Regions from separate parts of the Homo sapiens genome. Here region 2 is linked to region 1. The links are contacts of gene promoters, found by promoter capture Hi-C in human tissues and cell types (Jung and others, 2019). All regions are on one chromosome and are shown on one strand. The core of a region is centred on a gene start or on the middle of the fragment in contact, and the rest is flanking DNA. Distances in the headings are between cores, read along the strand shown.

What was found. Contacts are between HindIII fragments. The study calls those that stand out against the background at their distance.
Region 2: a fragment that was not itself captured here is called in contact with the fragment with the promoter of FZD8 in region 1 in 1 of the 25 tissues and cell types used here (dorsolateral prefrontal cortex).

The regions. Positions count from the first base shown.
Region 1 is chr10:35,640,480-35,645,055 of GRCh38, forward strand. It overlaps FZD8 (frizzled class receptor 8), which reads right to left and starts at 1,817. Exons shown (of 1, transcript NM_031866.3): 1 at 1-1,817. The coding sequence starts at 950. It overlaps LOC124902528 (zinc finger protein 469-like), which reads right to left and starts at 2,367. Exons shown (of 2, transcript XM_047426128.1): 1 at 2,151-2,367; 2 at 1,249-1,934. The coding sequence starts at 2,367. The coding sequence ends at 1,249. It overlaps MIR4683 (microRNA 4683), which reads right to left and starts at 773; the gene lies at 693-773. LOC105376494 (a long non-coding RNA gene) reads left to right here and starts at 2,836. Exons shown (of 2, transcript XR_930820.3): 1 at 2,836-4,437. RefSeq lists an enhancer at 6-165 and a silencer at 276-365. The HindIII fragment of the contact is 11,910 bases long and covers 1-4,576 here.
Region 2 is chr10:37,481,523-37,486,098 of GRCh38, forward strand. No RefSeq gene overlaps it. Among named protein-coding and RNA genes, the nearest start is that of LINC00993, 170 kb to the left of the region's middle. The HindIII fragment of the contact is 5,492 bases long and covers 1-4,576 here.

The sequences.
Region 1 (4,576 bases), core at 567-3,066:
GAGAGGAAGATAATGGGCCGCTCCGGGTACTTGAAGCGCTCCATGTCGATAAGGAAGGTGGAGACGGTGGCGAAGGTGGACACGAAGCAGAGCACCGACCACAGGCCGATCCAGAAGACGGTGAAGGCGCGCTCGTCCTGGCTGAAAAAGGGGTTGTGGCAGGGCAGCGCGCAGTTAGCGATCTGGCCTGTCTTGACGCGGTTGTAGAGCGGGTGGCGCTCGCTGGACACGCTCACCATAGGCGCGCGGCACTGGCACCCGGGCTCGCAGGGAGCCGCGCCGCCGCCAGGGGGCCGCGCCTTCCCGCCACCGCCGCCGCCGCGAGCTGGGGGCGCCGCCGCGTCCCCGCCGCCACCGCCCCTGCCGCCGCCGCGGTGCGGGGGCCTGGCCCCCGGCGGGCGGCCGTGGCCGCTGCCCGAAGGCGGCTGCTCGCCGGGCGGCGGCGGCGGCAGGCGGCGCGGCGGGCTGGGCGCGGCGGTGGTTAGGTCGGTGCGGTTGTAGTCCATGCACAGCGTGTCAGGGTTGCCTTGCTCGGGCAGCCGGTCGCAGCGCATGCGGTCGGGCCAGGCGAAGCCGTACTGGCGCATGAGCGGCGCGCAGCCGGCCTTGGCGCGCTCGCACACCGAGCGGCAGGGCGGCAGCGGCTTCTTGTAGTCCTCTAGGCAGATGGGCGTGTACATGCTGCACAGGAAGAACTTGAGATCGGGCGAGCACTGGATCTCCACCAGCGGCCAGAACTGGTGCACCTCCAGGCCCGCCTCGTCTTGCGTGTCGTGGTTGAACTGATTGGGCATGTAGGTGTAGTTGTAGCCGATGCCCTTACACAGCGGCACGGTGATCTCTTGGCATGCCAGCTCCTTGGCCGAGGCGGCCGCAGCGCCGCTAGAGCGCTGCAGCAGCGCCAAGGCGGCCAGCAGCGAGGTCACTTCCAACAGGTAACCCCACTCCATGCTGTGCGCCTCGGCCCGGTGCCCTCGCCCTCCAGGCGGCGCGCAGAGGGGTGCCGGGGGGGGGGCCCACGAGAGAGCCGCAGACGGGTACAGCGGGTGATCTGGGGTCTCCCTTATGCTTCGCCCGGGAGGGGGGTCTGCCGATAATCTAACCCCTTCTAGGGGCGCGTCCGCAGCGGCGCGGCCCGCAGCCTGGGCAGGGCCCTTCCGCACTCCTTTCCGCCGCTCCGGGGGTTTGAAGGCGGCTGCAGGCGCGCGCCACAGTCCGTAGGTCCGCTCTGCTGGCCCCGGGTCGCGCTCAGCCCTCGCGGCGCAGAGCGGCCGGGCCTCGGCTCATCGTCCCGCGCTCGCTCGCCTCCTCTCCGCGCGCCCGACCACTTCTCCCCGCCGCGCCGGGCGGCGGTGACTCCGCCGGACAGAGAGGGCGGAGGCGCCGCAAGTTTCCTCTGGGGCCGCGGTGCGCAGTCAAGATGGCTGGGCCGGGCCGCTTGCCGCGCCGGGTCAGCCCTGGCGGCCACCACTCGGCCCCCGGGGGCTCATGCCCGCCCCCAAGGCCAAGCCGCCGCCGCCGCCGCCGGAGTTGGGGACCCGCCTCGGCCCAGGCCGCCGCCCTCTTTCTCCGGCGTCCGTCCTTCGTCCGTCCGCCGCCGGGACAGACGGACCCCCGCCGCCTGGAAAAGTCAGCGCCGCGCTCCGGCCGCAGTCGGGCGAGGTGCACACAGTCTCCTTCCTGCTGGACACCCAGGAGCAAATCCAGACCGGAAGGCGGAGCGGACACCTGAGTGGCGCGGCCCGCGCCCAGCCGCCGCCTCCTCCTCGGCGGGAGCAGCGCCCTTAGCCCAACTTCCCGGCTCCAGCCCCGCTCGCGCCGCGCTGCCGGCTCATGAATATTTATACAGCGCGGACTCGGTCTCCGCCCCCAGCCCCGCGAGCCAATCGCCGGGCGGTAGGGCGGAGTCCACGCGCTCCCAGGGCTCAGCCTTCCTTAAGGCAGTCCCCGAGTGTCCGCACTGCTGTGCGCGCTCTCTGCGGATGGAGAGTTTTGGTAACCTTGGGATTGACCGCAGAGACAGAGTGTTGGCCATGGCTGTCCCCATGGCGCTGAGTGCGTCGGAGGTCTTGGTCCCCTTACCCCGAGTCTGCCCTTGGGGACAGGGACGGGGTTTGGTGCAGCGCGCGCCTCCCCGGCGCGTTTCAAACCAGCCAAGCCCCTGCTGCCACCCTCCGCAAATGTGGGTGATCTGCAGGCGGCTGGGGTCTCGTGCTCCTCGGGGCGGCAGGAAGGTCTCGCAGCAGGCGAGCGCCGGGGAGGCCTGCCGGGGCTCGGCGCTGCAGAAGACCCGGGAAAGGGTGTCCTCCTTGGGGTTCTCAGAACGATGGTTTCTGAGACTTGGAGATGTGGGGGGTGTGGAGTCATTCTAAACTGGGGCTGGACCCGGGACGGCCCGGGTGAGATGCCCCGGAGCCCAGCCTTGGGCGCGCGAGGGGCGCGGGGGACAAATGCCCGCCAGAGACTCTCCTCCCGCCTCCGCTGCGTGACCTGGGGGAGCCTCAGTTTCCCCACCTAGAGAGTTGGGTGATCATAGCACAGATCTCCAAGGGGGCTTTGATAATTAGGTGAGATAAAATATAGGAAGCCCCGAGCCGCCGTGCTTTCTTAGGAAAAATCATTCAATTTCTTTCTAAAATTCAAAACAAACCTCGAAACTTATAAATAGGACAGGCTGGAAACTCTGGGGCTGGATTCCCTGTCTTCCCTTCGTTCTTTCAGGACGTCTATTCATCCATCCCAAGTTCACAGGCTTTTGCCAGAGCCTCCTTTTCTCTGGTGGGAGGCGGCGCTGCGCTCTGGCGTGGACTCCGCGACACGTATCTGCTCTCTGCACGAGGCCGGAGCCGGACCCGGGCTGCTTTTAGCAGCCGCTTGGGCCACCGCCAGCGAACGCTGCCCCCGCCGGCTCCGCCGCCACCTTAAGACGGGCCGGGAGGGGGGCTGCGGGCGGCCCGGGCCGGCGGCCTGGCAGGTTCATTTACGCTTGTTAGGGCGTCCCAGGGGGCTGTCTTTCTCCTAGAATGGAGTGTTTATTTTTTAATTGATGTGCTGTTTCATTTAGCGCTTGTATGGAACTCATGCTGGGGCAGTAATTACTGTAATCTCGGGAACAAGCATTTCAGTTAGCCAGGAGGGTGGCAGAATATGTTTCTCTCTCTCTTTCTCTCCCTCCCTCCCGCCTCCTCCCCATCTCCGTCCCCCTCTCTCCCTCTTCCTCCCTGCCTCTCTTCTGTCTTCCCTCTCTCTCTCTCCCCACCTCCTTTCCTTCTCTCTCTCCCCCACCACTTTCTCTCCCCCCTCCTCCTCTTCCCCTCCTCCCTCTCCTTCCTTCCCTCCCTTTTCTCTCCGCTCTCTCACTCTCTTCTTGTTTCAAGATTTTTGCTATTTGCCAGGTTTCATACCGGAACAAGTACAGTTGGAGAACAAAAGTTGCAGAGGGCGTGGGGACAGAGCAAAAGAATTAAAAGTACATTTGAGGCCAGTTCCGGTTTTCGGGGCGCTGCTGGTGGTGGTGGTAGCTCGTGGTTGTCCGTTCAGAAACAACTCTTGTCATAAAACAAAAATAACCAGCAGTATTTGTAGATTGCTTGAGCTGATGGCATCTATGTCTTCCTCCTCCTGCTTTCTGTAGCTCAGTTAGCAACCTCATTATGAAACATATTACAAGTAGACTGTCAGACCGCACCCTGCCCCAGCGCCCCGTTTTTGGCAAGTTCTGTGTTCTAGGCATATCCACCAATCTATAGTTATACCCCCCTATCTTTTTAACTTTTTTAGTTTTAGTCTATAGAGTTGAACCTCTTTATACTGAAAAACAACACTTCCTTCCCACTTTTGTTTTGGAAAAACTAAAGTCCGTAGGAATTCGGAATTCAAAGGCTTCAGAAATATTAGCTGATTCAGCAGAAAACGGGCTATTCAAAAATACAGACTAGACCTTTACTTGATTAAAAAATTTTTTTTCTTTTCTCACCTCCTGCAAATCGGAATTCCCACTTGTATGTTGAATGTAGAAATTCACTATCTCTGCGGTTGGCACCTTGTTTCCAGAGGGCGAGTCTCCAGAACGCATCAGCTGCAGGTAATTGCCAGAGGTTCCAGTGCTGATCTGAGGGCAGCGGTGCAGGCAGAGCCCCAAAGACCAGCAAGGGTGCTGCACTGCCCGCACCACAGATGGGAGGGGCTGGTTTCCAAGAGCAACACAGATGGTGAAAAGTTTCTGTTGCTTTTCTTCCACGGGGAAATGTCAAATAGTGAAGTTTAGAATTACACTACATAAATTTGCTAGAATTGGGTAAAAACAAACTGACATTTGAAAATTGAAATTGAAGCTGAAAATGGTTGATTTTGGCTCTTAATTGGCTTTAAATTTTTTTTCTTTTTTCTTTTGAGACAAGATGAAAAGTTTGATGATGTGGAATGTGGAAATTTTGGGTAAGTATGTTAAGTTTGCATGAGAAAATAAGCAGACTGAAGTTCAGAATTTCAAAAATCATATCAGCTATTTGGGAGATCTTAGTGATTTGTGAGGTTAAAACCAGTTACATAAAAGTCATGACAAATGTACTTTTAA
Region 2 (4,576 bases), core at 1,142-3,641, 1.8 Mb after region 1:
ACCTTCCCAGTAAGTCAGTATTTCTAGTGCATGCCTGGTAGAATTACCTTGCTTTGTCTTCTAATTCATTCACTCACAAATTAATATATGAATTCCTATTATAATCCAGTCCCTCAGTCAGATGCTAGGCACACGTGATGAGTGAAATACAGTCCCTGCAGTTTGGAGCATACATAAAGAAGAGTATAAAAACTAAATGTCAGCCGGGCACAGTGGCTCATGCCTGTAATCCCTGCACTTTGGGAGCTTAAGGCAGATGGATCATCTGAGGTCAGGAGTTCGAGACCAGCCTGGCTAAGATGGTGAACCCCCCCCCCCCCCACTAATAATAATAAAAAAAGTTAGCTGGGCATGGTGGCACGTGCCTGTATCCCTAGCTACTCGGCAGGCTGAGACAGGAGAATCGCTTGAAACTGGGAGGCAGAGGTTGGTTGCAGTGAGCCGAGATCATGCCACTGTACTTCAGCCTGGCGACAGACCAACACTCGTCTAAAAAAAAAAAAAAAAAAGGAAATGTTCTAGATTCTAATGAAGAATGATGACATAGTTTGGATTAATTATCTTGGACTGGTTTTTTTTTGTTGTTGTTGTTGTTGTTTGTTTGTTTTGAGACAGAGTGTTGCTCACTGCAACCTCCGCCTCCCGGGTTCCAGATATTCTCCTGCCTCAGCCTCCTGAGTAACTGGGACTACAGGTATGTGCCACCACACCTGGCTAATTTTTGTATTTTTAGTAGAGACCGGGTTTCACCATATTAGCCAGGATGGTCTCGATCTCCTGACCTCATGATCTGCCCAGCTCACCCTCTGAAGATGCTGGGATTACAGGCCTGAGCCACAGCGCCTGGCCTGTCTTCAGTTTTATACATTGTATCCAGGTGTGGACTTTTACAAATTTATATTGCTTGGGATTTGCTGTGAGTTGATGTCTGTCATCAGCTCTGGAGAATTCCTGGCTATTATTTCTCCAAACATTGGCTTTGCTCCAATATCTCATTCTTCTTTCTTCCTGTATGTCGATTAAATGAATGTTAGATCTTTTTAACCACTCTCCTTTTTATATTTTCCTTCTTTTTTTTTCCTTTTCAAGCTGAATTATGGATAGTTTTTTCCTGACCTGTCTTCTGCTTCACTAATTCTCACTTCAGCTGAGATGATCTGCTATGAAGTCAGCCACTGGCTTTTTAACTTCAATGACTGTATTTTTCAGTTTGAGAATTTCTAGTTGGCCCTTTAAAAAACTTTTGTGTCATTTTCTATAGTTTCCAATTGCCATAATTGTCAAGTGTGGCTTTTATGTTTCTGAAGGCAGTAAACAGAGTTGTTTTATGGCCTGTGTCTAAGAATTCTCATTTCTAAAGTCTCTGTGAGCCCGTTTGCACTCTTGGCTGTTCCTGCCATCCTAGCTCTTAATGTCTTGTTTTATTTCTTTTTCTTTCTTTTTTTTTTTTTTTGCGACGGAGTCTTGCTCTGTCACCCAGGCTGGAGTGCAGTGGTGCAATCTCTGCTTACTGCAACCTCCACCTCCCTGGCTCTAACAATCCTCCTACCTCAGCCTCCCGAGTAGTTGAGATTACAGGTGCACGCCACCACGCCTGGCTAATTTTTGTATTTTTAGTAGAGACTGGGTTTCACCATATTGGCCAGGGTGATCTTGAACTCCTGGCCTCAAGTGATCCATCTGCCTCAGCCTCCCAAAATGCTGCAATTACAGGCATGAACCAACAAGCTGGGCTGTAATGTCCTGCTTTCTTGAGTACCTGAATTATGTTAGATGGTATTGGGCATTACATATGTATGAATATATATGTATATACGTGAATAATGGTGGAGTCTTCCAGATAGGTTTTTAGCTGTGTCTGCCAGTGGGGCACCACCAGTCTGGAACCACCTTAATCCAAGTTCAAAGTTTGAGACTCCTGGACCTCCCAGATGATCTGAACTTGTCTGTGAGCCTGAGGGCTGCATACTTGCCCTCCTCCCTGACCCTGCGGACCCTGCTTGACATGGGGAGTGGTGTATCTGAATCCCTAAATTTGGCAGACCCTGGGCTTTGAATTGTGTTCTTTTACCCTGTAAGACTATGGAAAAAACAGCTCATTTTCAAAGCTATTTTTTTCCAGATTGAAAAATGCCTTAGGATAAAAGCTTTGTGGGCTGGGCGAACCTCTTCTGGGTTTGTCCTGGCCTCAATTTTGGCAGATGTTTCTTCACCACTTTATTATCATTTTGATCCTCTTAAGGAAATTAAACAAATCTTTCAGCTGGCTTTTTAAGTTGTCTTTTGTAGAAGAGTTTATCTAAATTACTTAACCTGCTGTTAGCAAGGGAGAAGTACCAGGTGACCTAGGTTCAAATCCCAGGTGTGTGTATCACTTACAGCTGGCTGGTGTCAGCCAAGTTTGTTTGCTCATCTATCTGATGCACACATTAAACCCGTACCTACTTGATGTCGTGGCTGTAAAATTTAAAAGTGAACATTGTTTTTTATAAAGGGATATAGTCACAGATTTATTTATTGTGTGTGTCCCACACTAGAATGTCAATTCCAAAAGAATGGCACTTCACAGCCTGGTGTGGTGGCTCATGCCTATAATCCCGGCACTTTGGAAGGCTGAGGCAGGCAAATCACGAGGTCAGGATTTCAAGACCAGCCTGGCCAACGTGGCAAAACCATGTCTCTGTTAAAAATACAATTAGCTGGCTGTGGTGATGGGCACCTATAATCCCAGCAACTCAGGAGGCTGAGGCATGAGAATCGCTTGAACCCGGGAGGCAGAGGTTGCAGTGAGCCGAGATCACGCCATTGCACTCCAGCCTGGGTGACAGTGGGAGACTCTGTCTCAAAAAAAAAAAAAAAAGACAAGTGGCACTTCACCATTATTTGTTATTTCCCTAATAATGCCTGATACATAGTAGATGCTCAATCAGCATGGACTACAGGAAGGGTTACTTTGTAAAGATAACCAAGTACTTACCCAGAAAACATGTATGTAGGCTGTGTACAGTGGCTCATGCCTGTATTTCTAGGTTTCTGGGAGGCTGCTGTAGGACCACTTGAGGCCAGGAGTTTGAGACCAGTCTGGGCAACATAGTGAGACCCCATCTCTACAAGAAGAATTTTTTAAAAAATTTACTGGGCATGGTGGCATGCATCTATAGTCCCAGCTACTCAGAAGGCTGAGGCAGGAGGTTCACTTGAGCCCAAGAGTTTGAGGCTGAAGTGAGCTGTGATGGCACCACTGCACTCCAGCCTGGGTGACAGCAAGATCTTGTCTCTGAAACATTTTTTGTAAAACCAAGATTTGAACTTGGATTAAGGTGGTTCTAGAAGGGTGGTGCCCCAAGGCTTGGCAGACAGAGCAAGAAAAAAAAAATCCCCGCATGTATTTAAAGATAAAACCATATCAGAAAACTGCATTCTTGGGGATCAAGATCAAATCTTCATATCAGCATCTACTATCTATGTAGAAGGTCCTGTTCCCCTTTGTTAATTTCTAAACCTGGTTGTTAGATTAATACAATCATTGTTATTTCGTTTTAATTTTTTACTTGATATGATTTTTTTTTTTGAGACAAAGTCTTGCTCTGTCACCCAGGCTGGAGTGCAGTGGCAAAACCTTGGCTCACTGCAACCTCCACCTCCCAAGTTCAAGCAATTCTGCTGCCTCAACCTCCTGAGTAGCTGGGATTACAGGCACATGCCACCACACCTGGCTAATTTTTGTATATTTTAGTAGAGGTGGGATTTCGCCATGTTGGCTAGGCTGGTCTTGAACTCCTGACCTCAGGTGATCCGCCCACCTTGGCCTCCCAAAGTGCTGGGATTACAGGCAAGAGCTACCGCGCCTGGCCCCCTGATATGATTTTGAACAGGATCTTTATCTTCAGTGAAATGCTGATACTCCATTTCTTTGTGGAAACAGTCTTGACTTGTTGGGCACTTGGGCTGTTTCCAGTTTTGGGCTATTAGAGATAATGTCAGCTTCTTTGTCTACTGACGAAAGTGAAAATGGTGAAATGTGTCTATAGTCGAACCTTGACACTGTGTTCAGGCTCATTTTGGATGTATCTTTCAGTGCTTGAAGTTTGGCATCCTCTATAGTATAAACAAGATCAACAAAAATTGATTCCTGAGCCTCCTTCAGTGCTTGAAGTTTGGCATCCTCTATAGTATAAACAAGATCAACAAAAATTGATTCCTGAGCCTCCCAAGGGAAAAATTCAGACGATTTCCAAAGGAGATCAAAGAAAGATGTTCAATATAGAATTCAGGGTCACTGTGGAATCTTAATGATAAACTTTGGTATTTCCTTTGACCAAAATTATTTTAATAAATGCTCTAGCAATCACTGCCACCGGTACATTTTTTTTTTTTTAACCGAGGAGTGATTTAGGAATGGTAAGGTGATTTGCCTTGAGCCATAGAAGCTGGGGTGCTGACTGACTCATTCTGTATTCTGCAGCTTTTTAGGTAAAGAATTACCATGAATTTTTCCTTTTTTTTTCTTTCGAGATGGGGTCTCACTCTGTCACCCATTTAAGAGTGCAGTGGCACCATCATGGCTCACTGCAGC